Regions from separate parts of the Homo sapiens genome. Here all the other regions are linked to region 3. The links are contacts of gene promoters, found by promoter capture Hi-C in blood cells and fetal thymus (Javierre and others, 2016). All regions are on one chromosome and are shown on one strand. The core of a region is centred on a gene start or on the middle of the fragment in contact, and the rest is flanking DNA. Distances in the headings are between cores, read along the strand shown. Region 1 overlaps SNX30 (sorting nexin family member 30). Region 2 overlaps SNX30 (sorting nexin family member 30). Region 3 holds the start of KIAA1958.

The links. The method cuts DNA at HindIII sites, captures the fragments that hold promoters and counts their contacts. A CHiCAGO score of 5 or more calls a contact.
Region 1: a contact is called between a fragment that was not itself captured here and the fragment with the promoter of KIAA1958 in region 3, in 1 of 17 cell types (naive CD8 T cells). The highest score is 5.3, in naive CD8 T cells.
Region 2: a contact is called between a fragment that was not itself captured here and the fragment with the promoter of KIAA1958 in region 3, in 5 of 17 cell types (naive B cells, total B cells, naive CD8 T cells and 2 more). The highest score is 9.8, in naive B cells.

The regions. Positions count from the first base shown.
Region 1 is chr9:112,769,978-112,774,483 of GRCh38, forward strand. The region is part of intron 1 of SNX30 (sorting nexin family member 30); the gene reads left to right. Among named protein-coding and RNA genes, the nearest start is that of SNX30, 21 kb to the left of the region's middle. The HindIII fragment of the contact is 1,085 bases long and covers 1,349-2,433 here.
Region 2 is chr9:112,786,883-112,791,544 of GRCh38, forward strand. The region is part of intron 1 of SNX30 (sorting nexin family member 30); the gene reads left to right. Among named protein-coding and RNA genes, the nearest start is that of SNX30, 38 kb to the left of the region's middle. The HindIII fragment of the contact is 2,263 bases long and covers 754-3,016 here.
Region 3 is chr9:112,483,863-112,488,076 of GRCh38, forward strand. KIAA1958 reads left to right here and starts at 2,965. Exons shown (of 4, transcript NM_133465.4): 1 at 2,965-3,256. HSDL2-AS1 (HSDL2 antisense RNA 1) reads right to left here and starts at 3,782. Exons shown (of 5, transcript NR_171779.1): 1 at 3,117-3,782; 2 at 2,528-2,679. RefSeq lists an enhancer at 2,444-2,503 and silencers at 2,934-2,993, 3,074-3,563. The HindIII fragment of the contact is 12,105 bases long and covers 1-4,214 here.

The DNA of each region.
Region 1 (4,506 bases), core at 641-3,140, 290 kb after region 3:
TCTCACTCTCTCCACTGCTGCTACCCTGACTGCTGTCATCCCCTCTTGCCTGCATTACTGTACCAGCCGCCTGACTCGTCTTCCTGCTTCCACCTTCCCACCTTCAGTCATATATCCAGGCAGCAACCGGAGGGATTATTTAAAACATAAGAAACATCAGTCGCATCATGTCTCTTGCTTTTTAAATTTAATTAATTAATTAATTAATTTTTGAGATGGAGTCTCACTCTGTTGGCCAGGCTGGAGTGTTGTGGTGCGGTTTCGACTCACTGCAACCTCTGTTTCCTGGGTGCAAGCAATTCTCCTGCCTCAGCCTCCCGAGTAGCTGGGATTACAGGCACCTGCCACCACACCCGACTAATTTTTTGTATTTTTAGTAGAGATGGGGTTTCACCATGTTGGCCAGGCTGGTCTCGAACTCCCGACCTTGTGATCTGCCCACCTCGTCCCCCCAAAGTGCTGGGATTACAGGTATGAGCCACCGCGCCTGGCCTCTTTTTTGCTTTTGCTTGAAACCATCCAGAGACTTCTCAGTTCTCACACATTCCCCTCAAATCCTCCATGGGCTCCAAGTACATGGGTAATCTGGCTCTGCTGCTTCTCTGGCCTCCGTCCACTTCTCTCTCCCCCTGCCCACTCCCTTGCCTCACGCCTTTTGGCCCAGACAGCCTGCAGGCTTGTTCATCTATTTCATTCAGGCCTCCCCCAACCTCCCTGTATAAACTAGTAGCAGCCCCTGGCCGGGCGCGGTGGCTCACGCCTGTAATCCCAGCACTTTGGGAGGCCGAGGCAGGCGGATCACGAGGTCAAGAGATAGAGACCATCCTGGCCAACATGGTGAAACCCCATCTCTACTAAAAATACAAAAATTAGCTGGGCGTGGTGGCGCGTGCCTGTAGTCCCAGCTACTCAGGAGGCTGAGGCAGGAGAATCTCTTGAACCCAGGAGGCAGAAGTTGCAGTGAGCCGAGATCGGGCCACTGCACTCCAGCCTGGTGACAGAGTGAGACTCTGTGTCAAAAACAAACAAATAAACAAACAAACAAAAAACAAACTAGTAGCAGACCCCTCCCTGCCCAGTTATTCTCCCCCTTTACCTGGCTTTAATCTTGCTTCGCAGAACTTAAACCACCAGACATACTTGGTTTACTTTCTCCAGTACTGTGCTGTAAACTTCTTGAAGGCAAGGGGCCTGATCTGGTTTGCTTATTGCTAAATTTCCATGCATGAACCAAACCTGGTATGGGTGGAGTATACAGATATTTGGTGACTCAATAAATGGACCCGTGCTAAATGCTGTGTGTATAAGGATACCTGTTGCAGTATTATTTTTAATAGCAAAAGATAAAAGCTTATATGGCTATTAGTAGGGTGCTGGTTTTGTAAACTATGGTAGTTTTTGAAATGTGGTATTAAAAGGAATAAGGCAGCCCTGTATATACTTATATGCAACAATGGAAAAAAACGTTAAGTTGAAAAAATGTATAAATCGTGTATAGTCTGTCTTGCGTGTGTGTGAAAGAATTTATGTCAGTATGTCTGCCAGCCTTGGAAGGATGCAGCATTGCTGTGTCAGAAGGGTCCTTCTCCCAGCCTTCAAGAGTATAGTCTCCCCGGGTGGCTATTTGACCAAATTAGGGAGAAAGAATCTTCCCTCTCTCTTTCTAATTTGGTTAATAATGGTTGATACCAAACAAACTCTGATCATGCTTCAAAAAAAGGGGCCAGTGAGGGCTCTCACTCATAGTCCTGTTGAGCAGTTATGACTGTTTTTGAGAAGGGATAACAGCCACATTTTCATAACTGCTCAAAACCCCAAAGAGATAAGGCTAAACTGTGACAAAGGGAAAAAAGAGACAGTGCTTTTCTGGTAGTTTTTCAAATCTGTTCAGGTCAAATATGGGTGAATGTTGGCTTGTGGTGAGTTTTACCCTTTCCCTCTGTGGTCAATTTTGTGAACTTTTTGTTCTGGCTTGAGACATTCTTTTTTTTCCTGGTTCAAGTCATGGAGCAGGGGCAAACCTTCGGTTGTTTCACAGTTGTCCAGACTTTATTGGACCCCATTTCATGCCCTTGCCCTCATCCTTCCTGGCAGAGGACTTTCCTTGCCTAGAACATTGCCAGTCTCCGTGAAAGAGGAAGAGGTGTTTTCAGCCCGGTGACGTTAGCTCTGTTCTGGTTTCCTTTAGAACAATCCTTATTCTAGTGAGGGGTTACTCTAGCTTCATTTCAGTTTCTCCCCAGAGAGAGGAACGACCAACTTGTCAACAAGTGGAAATGGAAGAAGTGTTTCTGGGAGGTGGCTCTGTTGGGGATTAGACTGACACCTCTTTGTAAGAGGATGCAGTTGAGTTGCCTTCACTCTTCTGCTGTAACCAGATCCTCCTCTCCAGGTGTGCTGGGAGACCTGGCACATTATTTTAGGTATTCTTGAAGCTTTTTGAGTAACCTAGAAAGTATCTCATATAGTATGATAGGCTAGACATTGTTTAGATTTGTGGATTGACAGGTGTGGGGCTGTGGTACTCGTGTGTGCGTGTGGAGATATCTAGGCGTGTCTCCCCTGCCATGGTTTGAGCAAAATGGTCACATCTTCACTTCCAGTCTGACTCTGAAGAACAAGGTAGCCACTGTATTTTGCTTTTCTCAAATCATTCAAATTCTCTTAGATTTTGCTGTACCCAGTACTGAGTGTGAGTAGAAAGGGTAATGTTTATTAAAGATACATTGCAGTATCCCAAGATCGTAAGTTATGAAAGCAATGTTTGCATTTCACATAAACCAGTTTTGTTACTACATAAACGAATATGTCTTCAAGTGTTGATCCTGGCGTGTTTGCTCCTTGATTTAAAACAAAAACACATTTCCCATTTTAAATTCTCCTTGTGTTTAAATTATGAAAAGGCTACTTGAAAAGTCTTGCTATTGATTTATTCGTGAATCAAGGAACTTCCCAGCTATCTGTAGATTTGTGGTGTTGCAGTAAATGGGTCAAGAGAATCTGTTAATCTGTTAATTGTGAGAAACAATGTTGCCAGAAGCTAAATGAATAAAGCATACTTACCACCTCTTGTTCCAAAGCAAGGAAGCACACTGTGTAAAGAAGTTGAGAATTGTTAGAGAGGTTGGTTAGAGCAATGTAGGTGTGAGGCCGTTGCAGCTGCGTAGAGAGAATAGAGCCTTTAGAGTTGGCCAAGGGAGTTCTAATATAATCACTTACTGGCTGGCAATCACTTACCTCCTCTGAACCCTGTTGTCCCATCCATAAAATGGGGTTAATAATAGTACCTGTCTCATAAGGTTGTTTTGATAGCTTAATAAGGTTATGTACAATAGGGTCCAAAATCTCTTCTCATAACTGATAGTCATAACTCATATGAACAACATACTTTATATGGCTACAAAGAAGATTATTTGCTTTTTTTTTTTAAGAGATAGGATCTCGCTTTGTCATTCAAGCTGGAGTGCAGTGGCGTGATTGTGGCTCACTGCAGCTTTGAACTCCTGGGCTCAAGCAATCTTCCCAAGTAGCTAAGACTTACATATATTTTGATAGATACTGATAGTAGGAATAGGTGCATCTTGAGGTGTGTGGTGTACCTTAAATATTCAGAAAGTAAAAGATGAAAGAAAAGGAAGAATGCTTTCTAGAATAGTAAGATTATATAGTGAGACTATGATAAAACTCAAGGCATATGGGGAAGGGGAAACAACCAGTTCTGCAGAAAGAGTACATAAATTGTGGAGAAGAAAATCCTGAGTGAGCTAGGATTCATTTACTATAAATTATGACTTCAAGGCCAAATTACAGATAGCCTTAACAAATAAGCAGCTCACAATAAATATTCACAATTATGTTATATTTATATTACCATGGATCTGATTATAGTAGAAATGTTCACGTCTTCTCCTTAATTTGATTTTCATTTTGTTTCAATAAGTAAATTACTCTTGGCTCATTCAACATGATGATGCTGAAAAGAAAAGAGGAATCTTTCTATGTGACCTGTTTGTCTTCAGAAGAAAGGTTTATTTCACTGGCCAGAAAACAGAATTCTCTCCCAGAGGAAATGGATGAGAGAAACTGGACTTAGGAAGTTCATATTCCATTCATTTATTCATCAAATATTTATCAAGTGTCGGGCACTGTGCTAGGTGCTGCTAGCCAAATCCCCACTGGAGAGTCTGTTGCATTTCAGGGCTTTTCAGGTTTCTGTTTCTCTTCTTCTACCCCAAGATTAAAAAGAGCAGTCTAAAACAGTGGAGAAAAACCTGAAACCAAAATTGGCTCTTTGAAAAAGAAATCAAGAAAAATGACAGACCTTTAGCTAGATTGACTAAGAAAAAAAGAAGATTCAAATTACTAAAATGAGAAATGAAAGAGTGGGTCTGTAAGGTCATGTTACTAATGACCTTACAGAAAGGAAAAAGGATTGCAAGGAGGACTGTGAACCTGTGCCAATAAATTATGTAATTTAGACAGAATAGACAAATTCCTAGAAAGACA
Region 2 (4,662 bases), core at 635-3,134, 300 kb after region 3:
TAGAATACCCTCTTCCTGTTTTTTCTCTTATTCTTTAATGTTTTAACTATGATCAGACTCTTGGTTCAGGGCCTTTTTCTTTTCCAGTGAACACGCTAACCATGGGAATAGAAATCACCCACATTCGGTCTGAGTCATGTCAGTGGGAATGTGGGAATTCGATCTGGGGCAGCCAGGTAGCCAGTCAGGTGGCGCTCCAGCCTGGAAGGCCATCTGTACTTTTGGGTTGTAGGCTAGCACACTTCAGGATTCTAAAAAGATGCTGTGTGGAAACTGTGTCTCAGGCCTCGAAAAGTTCCACGGAAAAACATCTCTTCTAGCTGCTTTGTGGTGAGATGCAGATCTAAATCAATACAACATTATTGAGTGCCACAAAACTAGTACTGTACAGGGAGAACCTGTTCTGTACGGGGAGAAAAAAATGAAGTGAAGACACTGTGGAAGGAAGTATGACCTATTTGAATGTAGTCACACGTTTCCTTCTCATTTAGCACATCCTCTTGTGTTCATTTTAGGTTTGGATTGAGGATTTAAGGACAGCCCCCAGCCCCATAGGTAGGGTATGGGTGTCACAAATCATTAAATGTGGAAGTACTATACTAGAGGGCAGTTTGAATTTGGGTAGCTCAGGTAGGTCGAAATGTATTTCTGTTTCCTATTTTTAGTTTAGAGAGACAGTTTAGAATCTGTCGTGATTTTTTTCCCTCCCTAGGTATTTTTGAGGCTCTAATAATTATAGGTTCTCTCCTAAGAAGCTTAGATGTAACATCTAAGCTCCCAAAGAAGATTGGCATTTGCATGTGCACATGCAAATGTTGGTGCATAATTTTTGGCCCCCAAGGTGCCTATGGGTTTCAGAGAGACAGTCCCTATTGTAGAGGAATGGTGAGTTTTCGGTAATTTTTGAGGCAAGGACGCTTTTTTTTTTTTTAAAGATGGAGTCTCGCTCTGTCGCCCAGGGTAGAGTACAGTGGCGCGATCTTGGCTCACTGCAACCTCTGCCTCCCGGGTTCAAGCAGTTCTTCTGTCTCAGCCTCCCGAGTAGCTGGGACTACAGACGCATGCCACCACACCTGGCTAATTTTTTTTTGTATGTTTACTAGAAACAGGGTTCTACCATATTGATCAGGCTGGTCTTGAACTCCTGACCTCAGGGGATCCACCCAAGGCAAGGACACTTTTAGTCTTGCTAAAAGTGCAAGGCTTTTGCAGCACATCTGAGAAGTGTGGGCTGTAAGAGTGGATTAACAGTAACCACTTGGCACCTGCTATTGGAAGTTGAGTCCTGCCCTGTTCCTCACTTGAGTGTTTTTTTTTGTCCTTGAGAAGGTTTGGGCTGGGGTGATGATTAATCAACAAGCACATACTCAGCTCTGTATGATATTTTGTTTCCTCTAGGCCTTTGTTCTGAAAACTCAAAATGCCGTTTTCTTGGACTTTCCTTAGGCACCTGACTTCTTAGGTCACATGCAGAGTGCACTCCGCGTGTGTAGTACCATGTCAGATGGTAGCACAGAAACATGTCAATGAGAACCAGGCTTTGTAAGATGAACAGATGGTACAGTTAAGAGGAATTGGGCGAAGGGTAGGAAAAGAACTATTGTTTATGAAGGGGTCGTTCTAGGCACCTTCTTCCTACCTAAGGAACGCCTGGATTGTGGTGTAGCACAGCCCTACCTGGGCTCCTCACACACCACTCGAGGGACCTCATGCTTGTTACGTATAAGACTTTTCCATATGTGTAATAGAGACAACTTGGATGATCTCTGGGGGCTTCTACACCCTAGACCCTTGTGTGATTTTGGTGCAGAAGTTTCAGTGGAGGAATGCCTTCCTTAGGTTTATAAGTTTTCAGTTGGCAAGATCCTGAGAATGAGGGTCAAAGTGGGCAGAAAAGAGAGCAGGATTTCAGGATTTTTTGTTTCTTTCTTGAGGCAGTGTCTTGCTCTGTGACTCAGGCTGGAGTGCAGTGGCACGATCTCGGCTCACCACAGCCTCAACCTCCTGGGCTTAGGTGATCCTCCCACCTCAGCCTCCCCAGTAGATGGGACCACAGGCATGCGCCACCACGCCCAGCTAATTTTTGTATTTTTTGTAGAGATAGGGTTTCACTATGTTGCCCAGGCTGGTCTTGAACTCCTGGGCTCAAGCAATCCTCCTGCCTTGGCCTCCCAAAATGCTGGGATTACATGAGTGCGCCACTGCACCTGGCCCCGAGAACAGGATTTTAGGTCGAGTTGTGTTCTCTTTGTTCGTGCCCTCTGGAAAGGTGCATTCTGTCTTTGTAGAAAGCTGTCTGCTTGTTCTGTTGAGTCCTCCAGGTGGCATGCACATCCTTGACCAGCAGCAGAGGAAGAATTTTTGTGTTGGGGATCTTAGTTATTGTTAGGAACAGGCTCTCGGAAATGCCTCTCGCCCTTGATTTTTGGGGATTTCTCAGCCTGGAATGTCCTGGCCAAGCTCTCCCCCAGCCTTGTTTTTCCATTTGGCAAGTCTACTTATTCTTCTCAAGTTGCCCCCATCCATTCATGGAGCTCTGTTCATAGCCACTATTGCATTGCATCAGAGTTAGAGGTCTCATGTCCATATTCCCAACTAAAGTTATTTAAACACAGATGCTATATTCTGTTTTGTTTGGTAGCACTGCATTGGGATTTTGGCCTTGTGTATTCGGTGTTTAGTATATGCTTGAAATACTGGATCTTCCTTAGAAGGAATGAACAGGAATTGTGTATGGTAAATGCAGCTGAGAGTTGGGGAAAATCTTGGCTCCTAAGAATCATAAGAATGTCTGGAGAAGTGAATGTTAGTCTGGAGATTCTTAGAAAAATCTATTAACAGACACTGGTAAGTTTGCCAAGGAATGTGGACCTGGATTCTTTCATTTTGACTTTATGATCTTGTTAAGAAGTGTTCTTTTGCATCAGGCCAATGGGTAGAATTTGCTTGAAGGGCAGATTTTCTAATAGAAAACCTATGAAAAACATTTTCAGTTTCTAAACAACTTTAGTGACAAAGCTTTGAAACAGGTGATCTCTTAAACCATGTCTAAAGAAAAAGCCTTGCCTTATGAAAAATGGTCCTGAATCCAAAGTAGAAACACATAAAACTGTTCAGGGGGGATACTAACTTAGAAACCATAGGCTATGGGCCTTGGGAACTTGGAGATACTTGTACAAGCAACCTTGGAGTTTTTGGAGAATATTTGAGATGGGAATTCCTGGGCTGTGTGGCAAGGGAAACTGAACTTCCTACTAATAAGCAAGTAGCAGTGCAGAACTTGAGACTTACTATCAATAGTTAAGATACATTTGAATAACTCTCCAAAACAAAAGATAAATCTCTATGTCTTAATATTCCCTACTTTTTATATCACTGTGTCCTATTTAGACTGTTAAAAATTATACAGACATTTTAATGATTATATGTACTAGTCAGCTTTGCTGTGGTAATAACTCCAAAAATGCTAAGGTGTGCAACAAACATGTATTTCTAGGTCATGCCGTGTGTCAGTGGCTGTGAGTCAGCTTCTCTGGCCCTCTCCTGCAAGTCTTCCCATTCCAAAGGAGCAGCCCCTGTTTGGGACACACTACTTTCAAAGTCGAGGAGCAAGGGAGCTGGTGGAAGCATGCGTTGGCTCTTAAAGGATCTGCTCTGATCCGATGTACATTCATGTACCATGTACCAGTGGCTGGAGCAAGTCACGTGTCCAAGGCCAAAGTCAGTGTGGTGGGGATGTGTCTTCCTGTGGGAAGTCACTTGGCAATAAGAAGAATATATGATCCTTTTAAAGGATGGGAAGTTCATAATTATGAACACTAATGCAATCTACCATATAGTCTTTGTCCTCCACTTCTTTCCCAGAACATTTAGTAAATATAGCAGTTCATGTTTACCATTTAAAAATGCTTTAAACACATTTGCTCCCTATTATGTATATTACAAATTTTAGATAATTTGGGAGGAGCCTGACCTATTGCCATGAACTCATGTGGCAGATCACTGTATGAGTTCAAGTATTCTTCTCTATATTATTGCGGTAACTAGACTTTCCAGAATGGTTTTGAATTATGGCAAATACTTTATATCTGAATGTAGTGGACATGGCTTTGTGATTTAAAAGGTCTTCATTTTTAAAATATGTCCACTACATTTTTTATTGTTTTATTGTTATTGGAGATAATTTACAGAGCATGAAATTCACCATTTTAAGGTATATAATTGAGTGTATATTCACAGGGTTGTGCAACCATCATCGCTATCTAATTTTAGAATATTTTGTCACCCCAAAAAGAAATTTGGTCTTTATTAAGCTGGCTCTCCCTGTTCCCCCTACCTGTAGCCCCTGGCAACCAAGTCTGCTTTCTGTCTCTCAGGATTTGCCTGTTCTGACATTTCATATAAATGGAATTATATAGCATGTGGCTTTTCTCATCTAGCTTCGTTCACTTAGAATAATGTCTTCAAGATTAATTGCTGATGTTTTCTGATAAATACTTTTAAACATATTTAGGAACTTTTTTTTTTTTTTTTTTTTTTTTTTTTTGAGACGGAGCCTTGCTCTGTCGCCAGGCTGGAGTGCAGTGGCGCAATTGCGCTGCTCACTGCAACCTCCGCCTCCTGGGTTCAAGCGATTCTCCTGCCTCAGTCTCCCAAGTAGCT
Region 3 (4,214 bases), core at 1,715-4,214:
TGAGCTGAAATCACGCCACTGCACTCCAGCCTAGGCAACAGAGGGAGACCTTGTCTCAAAACAAAACAGAACAAAACAAAAACCTAATGGTTAACACCAGAGTCTTGGAAATAAGTTCCTCTCCTTTGTGCATGTGTTTTTTAAGGGCATAATGCCTATAGACCTAATAAAAGCATAATCTCACAGGTCTCCTTTCTTCTCTCTTTCTCCTCTACTCCTCCTGAGTAGCTGGAACTAGAGATGTGGGCCACCATGCCCAGCTAATTTTTTTTTCTTTTTGTAGAGACGAGGGTCTCACTATGCTACCCAAGGTGGTCTCAAACTCCTGGCCTCAAGCAATCCTCCTGCCGCACCCTCCCAAAGTGCCGGGATTATGGCCCTCAGCCAACCCACTAGGTTTACTGTGATTGCTTTCTCTAGGATCTTCGTTTTTCAAGTCCTAGCTGCCTTAATAGACCTGACTCCAAATTTTGTATCTCCAGGCCAGTAAGACTGCCGGTAAGCTCTAGGGTGCTTCTTTCTGACTTCTACACTCCTAGACACAAATCAACAATGCCCTGAGAAGGAAAAGCGGCTGAGAATGCAGGACTCACTTCAGAGTATTTCTCTTCTTCCTGGGGGGCTCGTGGACTCTCAAGCCTTGGATGACAGGGTTGCTCTCCAATTGTTTTAAACAGACTTATTTATTTTTTTAAACAGCTTTCATCGTTCTCAGTGGCAGAGTTAGTTTGTTCAACAAGGTACCTCATCATGGTTGGATGCCTGCATCATTAAAAAAATTCATTGTAGTGAAATATCCTTTAAACAAATAAAATTAGATTTGTTTTGAAGTTGATTGTGGCAAAAACAATTTAAAATTTACCTTTGTAACTACTTTTAAGTGTACAGTTCGGTGGTGTTATATTTACATTATTGTGTAACATCTCTAGAAATTTTTCATCTTGCAAAATTGAAACTCTGTACCCAGTAAACATTATATCACCATTTTCCCCTCCCTCTACCCTCTAGCAACCACTATTCTACCGTCTTGTTTCCACAAGTTTGACATAATCCCACAGTTTACATACCTCTACATAGTTCATATAGGTCAAATCATAACAGTATTTGTCCTTTTGTGACTGGTTTATTGCACTTGGCACAACATCCTCAAGGTTCATCTATGTTGTAGCCTGTGATAAGATTTCCTTCCTTTTTAAGGCTGAATAATATTCCATTATATGTATATATCACATTTTCATTCATCTCTTCATCTGTTGATGAACATTTGGGCTGCTTCAACCTCTTGGCTATTGTGAATAGTGCTGCAATGAACATGAATGTGCAAATATCTCTTCGATATCCTGCTTTCAATTCTTTTGGATATTTACCCAGAAGTGGGATTGCTGGATCATATGGTAGCTCTAGTTTTAGTTTTTTGAGGAACTTCCCCACTGTTTTGCATAGTGGTGGTACCATCTACATTCCTATCAGCATTGCATAAGAGTTCCAATTTCTCCACAAGATCCCATCTTTAGAATATGCAGCAATTAACTAGGGGGTTTTCATTTTTGGTCTTTTTTGTTTGTACAAACATTATTGTGTCAACATTTACACAGATTTTAAATTTCAGCCTAGACCTGGAAGAGTGTTGATAGAGGAAGGTGTTAAGAACATCAACCGGAATCAGCTCTAGAGATGGAGAGGGGTTGGCAGAAGCTACCTAAAAGAGAACATGCTTGATGTGGTAATGAAGTTACCTGCTTGGATTCTGGACGACCCTGGATATTTTCTCCTTTGCTAAGAAGTTAGCTTCTTTCTCTCCCTCAAAAATATTCTTCTCTTCCCTTACCTACTCCAAGGGTACAAGTGACTGGGGTATGCCTGTCACAGATGAGGTGAGGCCAAGATGTGGGCACTACGTAAGGCCTGACAGATATGGTGTAAATGTTATTTATTACCATGATTACTGTTTTGGAGATGGTCAGTGCTGTAAATAGAAAGGGAGTTAAGAGCAGACTCTGAAGCCAGACTGTCCGGAATGAATCCAGGCTCCTCTAGCTACTATCTATGTGATGTTGAAAAAATTTCTTAATTTCTCTGTGCCTCAGTTTCCTTATCATAAAATGGCAATGTTAATAGCACCCACTATGTAGAGTTCTTAGGATTAAATAAATTAATATTCGCTAAGTACTCAGTGCAAACTGTGGGCACACAGCAAGTACTACGAAAGTGTTAGGTAAAATAAAGGTGGACCAAGCCTGGTAGCACCTAGCAAGTCCAGCTTCATCTTTGCTGTGCTGAGTCGTGTAGGTGGTGTTCTTGTGTCTCTGGTTTGCTGGAGGACCTAGTTTTAGTGTATTTTAGGTATCATTAAGCATCCCCGCTCCCTCGATGGGATAGGGGTGTGTGTGTTACAGGTGGTTGTTGGGCACCTTCACGGGGCAGCGGTGACTATGGGCTGTACGTAGTATCTCGGTAGAAAGTGTTAATGCACATCCCTGGGCGGAGAGGTAACTCTACTCAATGCGTTATAAGGGAAATCACACACCTCACGGATGGTGTAGGTTCTGTCTGCTCCTTGCGTTTCAGTGGAGGTGCACAGAGCTCCGGGGGGCATCGGGGACCGCGGGCCCAGGACGTGTAGTAGGGAGCAGTGCTGTACACTTCCTCGGACCATAGCGGGGACGGCGGGTTCCACACCTGTCGGGGCAGTAGGGACTGAGCTCGTGCGCGCGGAGGATGGATTGCTCCAACCTCTCGGTCCAGCGCGCCGGCCGCCGCGTGCGAACGTGTGTGCGGCAGGAGGCTCGATCTACACCTCCTCGGGGCAGCAACGACTGCGAGCTCGGTGCGTGCCGTAGGAGGTGTCGTTACACACTTCCTGTGGGTCTCGCCGACCACGGCGCGTTTCCGGTGCCGGCTGGAGCCCGGGGTCCGAGCCCCCGCCCCGCTCGCCGGCCCCGCCCCGGCCCGCCCGCGCCCCGCCCCCTGCCCGCCCGCCGCGCTCCGAGCCGGGCGCGCGGAGCTCGGGGCGCACGGAGCGGCGCGCGGCGGTCGGCCGAGCCAGGCTGGCGCCCCCGCCCCCCGCCCCGCTCCTCGGTCCGCCGCCCGCCGGGCGCCTTCCCCGCTCCACTTACCTTTGGTGCCCGGCCCTCTGGCCGCTCTCCTCCCGCCCTCGCGCCCCTTCGGCCCGTCCCGTCCAGCCCGGGCTGCCCGGCTCTCGCAGGCCCCCCCGCGCCGACCGCGTTCCTATGGACAGACGCACAGACACCTGCAGGTGGGTGAGAGCCCGCGCGCGGGGCGGGGACGAGTGCGCCGACGCCGCGACCCAGGCGGGGAGCCCCTTTGTGTGGGGGGCGGCCGCGCCGGGGTCGACTCTGCTTCCCCGTCAGCGGCCGCGCGGTGACCCGGCTGAACCTTCCTTTTGTCTCCTCTCGGGGGAGCGAGGCCGGAGCGAGGGCAGGGACCCGGGCGGCCGCTCGTCGGCAGCGCCGGGCTTGGGGGTGCGAGGCGCAGAGACCCCCGGTGGCGGCTCCGGTCCGCCTGCCCCGGGCCGCCCCGCCGCCCGGCAGCTCGGGTCTCAGCGGCGGCTGCAGGCGCAGTGCGTGGGGCTGGCGCCCCCGCTCCTGCTCTTGGGTCTGTCGGAGGTGGGAAGGAGGGCGGGAAGGAGGAGGAAAAGGTCTGTCCTCTTAGTTTCCAAGTCTTGAGATGCTTATGGAGAAAGAGAGGTGGTTCAGGGCTCTGCCCCACTAGTTTTCCTCCTCGGGTGGCTCGCCGAGGTGCGTTTGGGGCGTGTGTGAAGGAACGTGCATGGCTTCGCTCCCTTATTTATTGTTTCTAACGGAGGAGGGCTTTCTCCAAAAGGCTCTTCCGCCCCCCCACCCCCATCTGAGGCTGCGCACAGTGATTTGTGTTTGTTATCAAATATATCGAGAAATGTATTCCCCTGGGTAGGAGGAGGTTGGACTGAACAACGTCAAACCAAAATCAAAGAATGTTTTTGGTTCCTTCAAGTCTTTTTTTTTCTTTAAGGTTTTAGATTGGGACTTTAAAAAAAATGAACGTGGCTGTGATTTTTACAATTATATGTATTTAGTGTGTGTGCGTGTGTGTGTGTGTGTGTGTGTGTGTGTTTTGAAGTTTAGGAGTAAAGTTTTGTTTTTTCCCGAACTCGTTAGGATTCGCAAGACGGAATCCTCTCCCGACGAAATAAACAGCTAACAAGCCAGTCAGGT